Regions from separate parts of the Homo sapiens genome. Here regions 1 and 3 are each linked to region 2. Evidence: promoter capture Hi-C in human tissues and cell types (Jung and others, 2019). All regions are on one chromosome and are shown on one strand. Each heading gives the region's core, a stretch centred on a gene start or on the middle of the fragment in contact. The rest is flanking DNA. Distances are from core to core; before and after follow the strand shown. Region 1 overlaps CABIN1 (calcineurin binding protein 1). Region 2 holds the start of SUSD2 (sushi domain containing 2). Region 3 overlaps CABIN1 (calcineurin binding protein 1).

Region 1 (3,158 bases), core at 132-2,631, 53 kb before region 2:
TCACAAGGGAGGAGGAGTGTGGTACCCTGGACCAGCCGCGGTGCCTGTCGGGGCTGGCCATTGATGGCTGCCCCTCATCAACTCCACAGGGAGGGAATTCAAGGAGTGAGTGCTCTGATCAAATTCCCTCAGTCAAACCCACCCAGTAGTCAGAGGCCCAGGAGCTTGAGAATGTGTCCACACAGGTGGAGAAGAAGTCAGTGTGGCAGCAGAGATGGGAGGAGGCCACAGCAGGATATCAGGAAGTAGTCTGATTCTAGATGGATTCAGACAGAAGAGCTGAATCAATGGATCAGACAACATGGGAAACCTAGAGGACATAATACTAAGTGAAATAGCCAGTCACAAAAGGCAAATACTGAATGATTCCACTTAGATGAGGTATGACGAGTAGCAGCCTGGCAGCGCTAGCCCAATCAGACCCCATTTCTTTGGCCCAGGACCTGTGGGGTGTGAAGGAAAGAGAAAAGTCAAGGTCAATCCACAGATAGTCATTCATCCTGCTTCTGTTCTGATTCTCTAATGTTGTGAATCAGGTGAGAAAGTTTGCACATCTATCATCTTCAACAACTGTATTTAACTTTTCATATATATATATATATGAGTGATCTAGAACAGTTGTATATATATGAGTATATATGAATAACGTAGAACAGAGTTCCCTCCTGAGGCACTATTGACATTTGGGACCAAATAATTCTCTGTTGTGGGGATGTTGTGTGTGCACTGCAGGACTTTCAGCAATATCCCTGGTCTCTACCCACTAGATACCAGTAGCCTTCCTCTAGCTGTGATGACCAAAGATGTTTCCAGATATTGCCAGATGCCTCCTTGGGGACAGACCCCCACCCCCATTGAGAACTATTGCCATGAGTCTCCCTCCCCAGGCAACTCTCAGGAATGTTGGGTGCATTTCCTTTCCATCTTCTGCCTACTTTCTTTACACACAAACAGACACACACTCACAGAAATGTATGCAAATGTGGTTCTGCTTTTTTTTGCTTCTCGTGTACTCATAAACTCTTTGATTGCATGACTTCTAATGCCTACACAGGATTCTCGGGGCGGGGGGAGGGTGGGCACAGCTTTTACACTAACTCCTTAATATTTGGCTTTATCCAAACAGACATTCTAATTATAATTTTTCATGATTAGAAGTATCAGGAATGGTTGGCTTTAAGTCTACCAGGTCTAGCTATGGGGATATTCATGTCCTAGGTTGCTGGGGTGAGTTTGCAGTAGGTATGTGCCCGCAGCTTATGGGTGTCCCCAGCAGCCCACTGAGTCTCCCATCAGCAGGTAGCCACACACTCCTCTTCCTCTGGCCTATAGAACACTACTCCAAGGGCTCCCAGCCAATTCCCCTTCACACAGGGCAAGAGGTCCTGGGTGGCTCCAAAGGCTGCAGAAGGTCTTCCCTGGCCAAGCCCTCCACCACTCCTGTTTCCTCCATTTGTCATGGAACCCGTGAGCACCATCTGTGCCCCCGTGCCAATGCCTGAGGTATGGCTAGGTGAAGGGCTGAACACAGCTGAGGTCCATAGCCACCTTCCTGGCAGCCCTGTGGAGCCCTACTGGTCTTGCAGATAGGCTGGCACTGCTCCAGGATCCCCACCAGACAGTTTGCACACCTGGAGTCACCATGTAGGAGTTGTAGAGCCTGACCTCTCTGAGCCCCACCATCTGTCCCTTGTGGATTCGTGAGGCAGGAGGTAGTTAAGTGGTGAGTGGATCATCATCATTGGTTGTGGCAGGGAGACAGCCCCTGGGGGCAGAGACCCTGGGTGACACAGGCAGAGCACATCCTCCAGGCCACCATACAATAGTGACAGATGGCACCTGGGATCAGGTCTGCCTTACGGCTTTGCACATCTTGGGACAGCAGGTGTCCCCAGAGGGTAGTAGTTGTTTTCCCATCTCCAGCTGTCAACAGGCTTTGCCAAGCCCCCACTACATGCAGGGCCCATGGAAGGCTACAGGTAGGGATGCAAGCCACCTCACCCCAAGCTTTTGCTTCCTGTGTGAAGAGAAAGGGAGCGTGGGGAGTTCCAGGAGCTATGACAGTCAGCCCAATGTGTGCTGTAGTGAAACGATTGCTGGCAGAGTAGTGCGAGTTAGTGGGCGGGGGCTGGCATTGAAATTTAGCCTCAAGGGCATGGACTGTTGCTTAGCTGGCCCCAGGGAGCATAGTGCTGGCACCCTGGCCTTGGGAAGGACCCAAGCAGCCCCACTCACGCCCCATGGCTGTTGCCCTCCTCCCTCAACCTGACATACGCTTCCTTCCCATTTTATGAAAGGTCAGACTGCTCAGCTTCTTTTCATTCTTCCTGTGGGCAACTATTGCACCCTTTTCTGTGAGCTTCAAACTAGACTTGTCCTGGAGGAGCCATCAGTGAAGTCAGACTGTGTCCCTGCCCTTATAGGGCTGATAGAGAAGTAGGGGCAGACAGCAGACCCATCTGCGAGTCAGTGGAAAGGCTATTTAAGGTGGCCATGGGGCTGTGGGAATAGTATTCCAGGGGAGCATCAGGGGGAAAGGTGAGGTGGCACCAGGTAGAGAGACCTCCAGGGACCAAGGTGGGAACAAGTGTGGCTGGAGGGCTGTTCACAAAGAGGGGTTGGAGGGTATGGGGGAGATGAGCCAGCGGGTAGGCAGGTAGACTGAGGCATGGAGCTGACTCTTGCCCTGAGGCAGGTGCAGCCCAAAGGCCTTTAAGCAGAGGAGTTAGATGTCCCCTCTGCCTTCTGCTGTGAAGCAGGGATGGTCCAGATAGTAGGCAAGGGAGGACATAAGGTGCCTGTATGCTTCTACGATTCTTTGCCCTACTTCTCTTCAGGACCTTACAGCCCTCCATCTGCCCTCTGTCACAGGAGGGTCTATGTGCACAAGCCTCAGGGCCAATGCAGCCAAGGAAAATGTGCCGTTATCTGGCAAGTGGCTCCATGGGCCTCCTCCCATTCTCAGAGGTGCCTATGAGCCAGCAGTGTGACAGGTTGCATGAGGCCTGAGAGAGGGCTGGCCATGATGGCTGGCTCAGTGTTCAGCACACAGCACATGCCCAGGCGGATTTGTAAAGTAACTTGCCCACCTATAGTGGATAGGTCAGGGGGCAGGGGAAGAGCCCAGGCCTCAGAGTCCTTGCAGCCTGGACCAGAGT
Region 2 (2,827 bases), core at 43-2,542:
GTCCCTGAGAAGCTGAAGGTCTTGGGGGCCTCTCACCAAATGTCTTTGGGAGGTGGGAAAACATCAAATGCGGGTGTGGCTTCCCTGGAACAGCTCTGTGTGGGGACTCAGGAGCCAAGTCCCCCAGCACACGCCTCTAACACTTTCAGTAGGGGCCACCTCTCTGGAGCCACGGGTGGCTGCCAACACCCTGTGGTTCCCAGCAGGCACCACCCAGGCAAGAGAGAGAACAGGCCGGGGAACAATGGGCTGGCCTGGCCGCAAGCGCTGGGGCAGATCACAGACCGGATGGCCTAAGCTCATGCCCTGGGGCCACCTCTGACTCCCTGCAAGTGTGGCAAGGGTCCCTTTTGGACACCTTGAGAAGCTGCAGCTGGGAGAGGACCACCCGCCTGTCTGGATGTCCAGCCCAGGTGTCAGGGTCCAAATGACCAGTCCCAGGCCGCAGCCCTTACCACCCGCCCTGGCTGCAGGGGCTCCCAGAAGCCACCAAGGGCCTGGCTCGGCCTTGCCTATCCGCATCTGAGCTTCAGTTTCCTCATCTGCTCAAGAAGGGAGGTGAATACTGATTAAATTATGCAAACTCTTAGCGGCAGGATTAGGTGTGGCTGGGACAGCCAAGGCTCCCCAGGGTGGTGGCATCTCTGGAGCCCGGGGATGGGCCCTGTCTCCCTTCCGGGCCCCCCGCTGGGCTTGGGTACCTTCTCTCCCCTTCCTCCTTCCTCCCTCCAGAGGGGACCCCTGCAGAGCTGCCTCCGCCCCAGGGCTCAGCCTGTGTCTGACCCAAACAGCTCCTGCCTCCCCCTGAGGATGAGTTGGGTGCACCTCCTTCCTGCAGGAAGATGAGGGCTAGAGATGGAGGTCTATGTCAGGGCCACAGAGTCTGGAATCCTCCCTGGAGCTAAAACAGCCCTGCCTTATTCACCCTGCGCATCCCATCCTCTGCTTCAGCCCCGCCGGGCTCGCCCTGCATGCAAGGCGGGGCTGGGACCCAGGGTCTGAGCTTCGCCCTCTGGACATCCGGCTCATCGCCTGCCAAAGGTCCTGTGGCTGGAGGCTCCGGCCTCCTCACCCTCCCACAGGGTCCCAGGGCCGATCCAGGCCTGCGGGCCAGGAATGTGCTAACGGGGCAACTTGGGCCTTGCTGGTCCACGCAGGCACCTGTGGACTTTGAGAGGGGACTGGGTGGGGAGGGGCGGGGAGGGGCGGGGCGGGGCGGTGCCGCAGAGTGCAGGGCGGGCGGGGCCAGGCCAGCAGGGAGTGAGCTTGTCTGGCCGCCTCGCCTCGGAGCCACTGCACTGCTGGCTGCAGACACAGGCTGCACCATGAAGCCAGCCCTCCTGCCCTGGGCCCTGCTGCTGCTGGCGACAGCCCTCGGCCCGGGCCCCGGACCCACAGCAGGTATGCCTCCCTGCCCTTCTGTGTCCCCGTCTGTCTGTCCATCTGTCTGCAGCCAGGCCTGGGCTGACATCCCTCTGGGCTCAGCCTCTGTCCATCTGTCAGGCCATCTGTGGCTGTGCTAGGGGTGATGGGAAGAAATTCTGAGGGTCCATGTGGAGGGGCAGCCCATGGGGATGGGAGGTCTGAGCCGGGCCCACCCTAAACCTGCTGGTAGCTAGGAGGGAGGCGGGGGAGACCAGCAGAGGCCTCCGCCTGTGTCCCCAGCCCTGACAGGGCGGGATCACGGAGGGGGAGCCAGGATTGTGGGTCCTCATCAGGGTGGGGCTGAATCCAGGAAAGTCTAGGGAAAGCCCCGAACTCCAGAACCAGGACACTGGTCCCAGGCTGCCCCCCGTCCCCCACCCCATTTCCCATCGACCCTCTTGCCACTTATCTCACTTGCAAGCATCTCTCGGCCTCCTCCCCCGACCCCTGTGCGCCACCAAATCCTTGGCCAGTACATATTTATTGTTGCTTTTAAGTGCCAGGCACTGCACTTGGTGAAGTGGGGCCAGCGGGGTGGCTCAGGCCCAGGCCTGGCCCTCGACTGGCCTCTTTTGATGGGGGATGGGGAAGGGCCAGGGAAGTGCAATTCCAGCCTGGGTGCATGCACCTGCCCCAGTCCCTCCCTGCAACCCTTCCTTCATGCCAGCCCCTGGAAATATGGCCTTGCCCACCGGTCTTATGGCCCATAGGAGAAGTTTTGGGCCCGGCGCCCACAGCCCCTTGTGGTGTGCACCCCCACTTCCCTTTCCCCACTGCTGGGACCCCTGCTTGAAATGTCCCTCCTCTCCCCAGAAAGGAGGGGAGCGGCCCTGGCCTTCTGCCCTGAGCACGGAGCTCTCTTTGGGGTCTCAATTGCAGCCCCTGGGAGAGCGAGAAGTGTCACGTTCAGACCCTGCACCATTCCCTACCAGGCCTCAAATGAGACTCTTGGCAGCCATATCCCCCACCCCAGTCCAGGCAAGCAAGAGGGGTTCTTCTGCAGGCTTCAGGGCCCCCAGAAGGCGTGCTGACCACAGACACCCTGGGGAGCCAAGAGAGGTCGAGGGCTCCAGCTACCGTGGCCCACTGAGGACCCCTGCCTGTGGGATAGAGGACTTGGTGGCTGAAGGGCAGTCATGCCCAGGGGCTTCTCCTGACCCTGCAGGGCTGAGCGGATGCAGCTTTTTGCCTCTTCTCGCTGCATTCTAGCCCGTCAGTCAGGGCAACAGCCAGATGGTCTGTGCTAAGATTCATCCCATCCCCACGGGCCCTGTGGCTTTCTACTGTGTCCACCTGGTGGCCTGTGCAGTTCCTGGCCAGCGTTCTCCTGGGGATGCTGCTGTCTAATGGGCTGTGGGAGAAACAGAGACAGGCCCTGCACATGGGGCAGCCAGTCCAGTAC
Region 3 (3,160 bases), core at 529-3,028, 35 kb before region 2:
TCCTTGCTCCTCCTTGCCTCTCCAGGAGGTGGACTCTCTTGTCCCTCCCTTGCTTTCACCATCAGAGAGCAGGGCTGAGACCTCCTGGTGGTGAAGCATTCTGCCCAGCCCTTGGTCACCTGATGGTGCATGTCATCTTCCACTAAGCCATTAGAGAGGCCCACTCTCAAGGGGTGCCCAGGTCCCTAGGGGAGATGATCAGGTAAACAGAGCACATGATCCAGCAGCCATGGAACCCAGAGCTCACAGTGTCTTTTGAGAAGGCCTGTGGTAGATGGGAAGATCATGGGCACAGGGGCAGCTGGGCTGCACTGGCCCCAATTTGTAGAAACCACAAGTAAATCTCCTCCACATTTGACTTCCCTCTTTGGGGCCTCACCTGGCACTCTGTTGCCCCTCCTGCCCACCTCTCCCTCAAGGCCATCCTAGGCCTGTTCAGACTGTTGGTGGAGGCCATTTCCAGTCAGGGCTTTCCTGCCAGGTGTTGCTGTGCTCCGTGTTGCTGTGCTCAATGTGACTGCACAGCCCAGCCTTCCCCAAGCTTATCTCCAGCCCTGCCCAGGCTAGTGTTGGATCCTGCCTGAGCCCCTATGGGAGTCACTTTTGCACATGTGCTTTTGGAGACAGGCCTGCCCCTCCTGGAGCACAGGCCCCATCACCTAAGTGAGCAGACAGTGTGAGAATGACAGGAGAGTGACGTTAGAGGACATGCCTGTGAAGGACAGAACAGGGCCAGGCTTCTGAGCAGAAGATGCAGCATGAGGCACAGTGTGGGGCACAGACAGTGCCACATGCACATCAGGGAGGGCCTCGCAGAGTTGCATGCTATACGCAGTGGTGGGTGGCCAGCTGGCCACCACTGGACCCTGTTTTCCTGGGCCAGGTGCAGTTTGGTCTTTCTCACAAAGAAAGGGGGACTGAATTGAGGAGCGTCTTCCAGGTGTTGCACTAGCTGCCCTGAATGCACTGGAGGGGCTGGGCTGGGGCTGGGGCTGGGGCAGAGGCAGCAGGAGCACTGTCAACCCACCATTCCTCAGGGCTCCAAAGTGCTGTGTTTGGCACTTCTACATACAATGGCTTGTTGAATTCTCATAATTCATGAGATGTAGGTAGTGCCATTGTCCCTGCCTCGCAAATTAAGAAAACGAGACAGGCACACAGCAAGTTTGCACCTGAGCCAGGATTTAGGTGTTCTGAGCCAGGACCCAGACTGCCTGTGGACTGATGGGATGAGGGGAAGCGGAGTACAAGAGGGCCGAGGAGGTGGGCTTGGGGGACCTGGTGCTCAGCCCTGGCACTCTGATGCTCAGATCTGTCGTCCCGTGTGTCTCTGCCTGGTGTGCCAGGCATGTGGCCCTGGGTCTGCGTGCATGCATATGTCTGTCCTCCAATGGACAGGGCGCTAGGATGCCTCTGAGGGCAAGCAGTGTCCTCAGTGGAGGATGGACGCAACACAGTAGAGATGCCACTCAAGGCCGTGCTAGGATGGAAGGGTGCTGCTTATTATCCCACTCTTTCCCCAAGGGTAGTCTCAGCTCCTAATGCGCAATGTCATCTGGTTTTCAGAAGAAATTGGGATTGATTGTGGCTTTTCCTGGGGTATCCCCATGATAACAAGTCACCAGTGGCTGTAGACATCCCACCCTGGCTGGTGAGGAAATGGGCTGGGCTTCTGCCTCTGGCTCTGCCCTTGGCTGTGACCTAGGCAGGTCATCTGGCCTCTCTGAGTACCTCCTCTATCACTAAGATTAACTGAGGTATGCAGCAGCCCTTAGGACTGTCAGGGGATCAAAGGAAACCCAGTCACATAACAGTGGGAATCATAGGACAGAAAAGAAAGAAAAAAGTTTAAATTGAGGAAATAAGAGCTACTTGGCTGTAGTAGGAATTGCTGCACTAGCACTATTTTTAGCATTGCTGAGATGATCTATGGGCCAGTTGCACAAGCAGAGTAAACAAAAGAAACACTTCAAGTTCTCCAGGGAAAAAAGGTCCTGTTTTTAAGAGTCTTAAAAGAGTTAGCAAACTTGTGTGGATTCTAAATGTATCCCCGAGCTCTCCTTCCTTCCCACATCCTGGGCTCTGCAAGCTTTGTGGAACTTCACAGCTTCCGGCTTGCACAGCCCCCGTGTTCAGCCTGGAGCAGGTCTGAAGGCCGCCCTGTCTGGGGAGGGGCAAGCCTGAGAGGCAGCAGGTGGAGAGGGGGTGCTTCCTGCCTGAGAAGCTACAGTGTGTCCTCACCAGTAGGAGAGGTCAGTAGGAGGAAGTACACACAGAGGAGTGGCAGGGACAAGGCCACAGGTTACCCAGGCCCCTGCCCTGACAGGACCACAGCAAAAGCCAGGCCACCTGCATTCACAGTTAGAATTTTTAAAAAAATAATTAAATAAATAAAATGTAAGCAGCCTTTAGACCATCGTTCCTGGTATAAATTATTTTCTGGCTATCCGGAGACAGTTTTCATCTCCAGATGTGGATTCAAAATTCTGGCAAAGCCAGGATGCTTGGGCAGAGGAAGATGATCTTGTTAAGCCCTTAGCATTCATGATCCCATGGAATCCCCATGACCATCCTGCTAGGAGGTGCAGAATCTCTGCAGACAGCGCACTCATGACTTGCCTAAGGTCATATAGCCAGTAAGTGGCAGAGCCCAGACTGGGAACCCATGTCCCTTGGGCCAGCCTCCATGCCGGAGTTTCTGCCCAGCCTATCAGAAGCAGCTGCTATTTTTTCCCTAGTGGGATGCCAGTGTTTGTATATACATCCACCACCTCAGCCCACAGCCCCCTCTGCCCCCAGCTGCCCTGGGTATTCAGTCAGGAGCTCGCTGTTTAACATTCCTGAATAGAGGAGCATTTTTCAGCATGAACTTCATTTCCCACCACAAGTTATTTTTCAGAGGTTTGTTCTTGGAATGTATCCCAGCAGCACCTCCCTCCCTCCCTCTCTCCCTGCCTCCCTCCCTCCGTCCCTGCCTCCCTCCCTCCCTCCCTGCCTCCCTGCCTCTCTGCCTCCCTCCCTCCCTCCCTCCTCTCCTCCCTCCCTCCCTGCCTCCCTCCCTCCCTGCTTCCCTGCCTCCCTCCCTCCGTTCCTCCCTTCCTTCCTTCCCTCCACCTCTCCTTCCCTCCTCTTTCTTTTCTTTTCTTTCTTTCTTTCTTTT

What was found. Contacts are between HindIII fragments. The study calls those that stand out against the background at their distance.
Region 1: a contact is called between a fragment that was not itself captured here and the fragment with the promoter of SUSD2 in region 2, in 3 of the 25 tissues and cell types used here (dorsolateral prefrontal cortex, mesendoderm cells and spleen).
Region 3: a fragment that was not itself captured here is called in contact with the fragment with the promoter of SUSD2 in region 2 in 2 of the 25 tissues and cell types used here (dorsolateral prefrontal cortex and spleen).

What each region holds. Positions count from the first base shown.
Region 1 is chr22:24,127,236-24,130,393 of GRCh38, forward strand. All of the region lies in intron 28 of CABIN1 (calcineurin binding protein 1), which reads left to right. Among named protein-coding and RNA genes, the nearest start is that of SUSD2, 53 kb to the right of the region's middle. The HindIII fragment of the contact is 5,404 bases long and covers 1-3,158 here.
Region 2 is chr22:24,180,195-24,183,021 of GRCh38, forward strand. It overlaps SUSD2 (sushi domain containing 2), which reads left to right and starts at 1,293. Exons shown (of 15, transcript NM_019601.4): 1 at 1,293-1,401. The coding sequence starts at 1,326. The HindIII fragment of the contact is 36,064 bases long and covers 1-2,827 here.
Region 3 is chr22:24,144,298-24,147,457 of GRCh38, forward strand. The region is part of intron 29 of CABIN1 (calcineurin binding protein 1); the gene reads left to right. Among named protein-coding and RNA genes, the nearest start is that of SUSD2, 36 kb to the right of the region's middle. RefSeq lists enhancers at 1-588, 589-1,324, 1,941-2,160, 2,025-2,319. The HindIII fragment of the contact is 6,827 bases long and covers 1-3,160 here.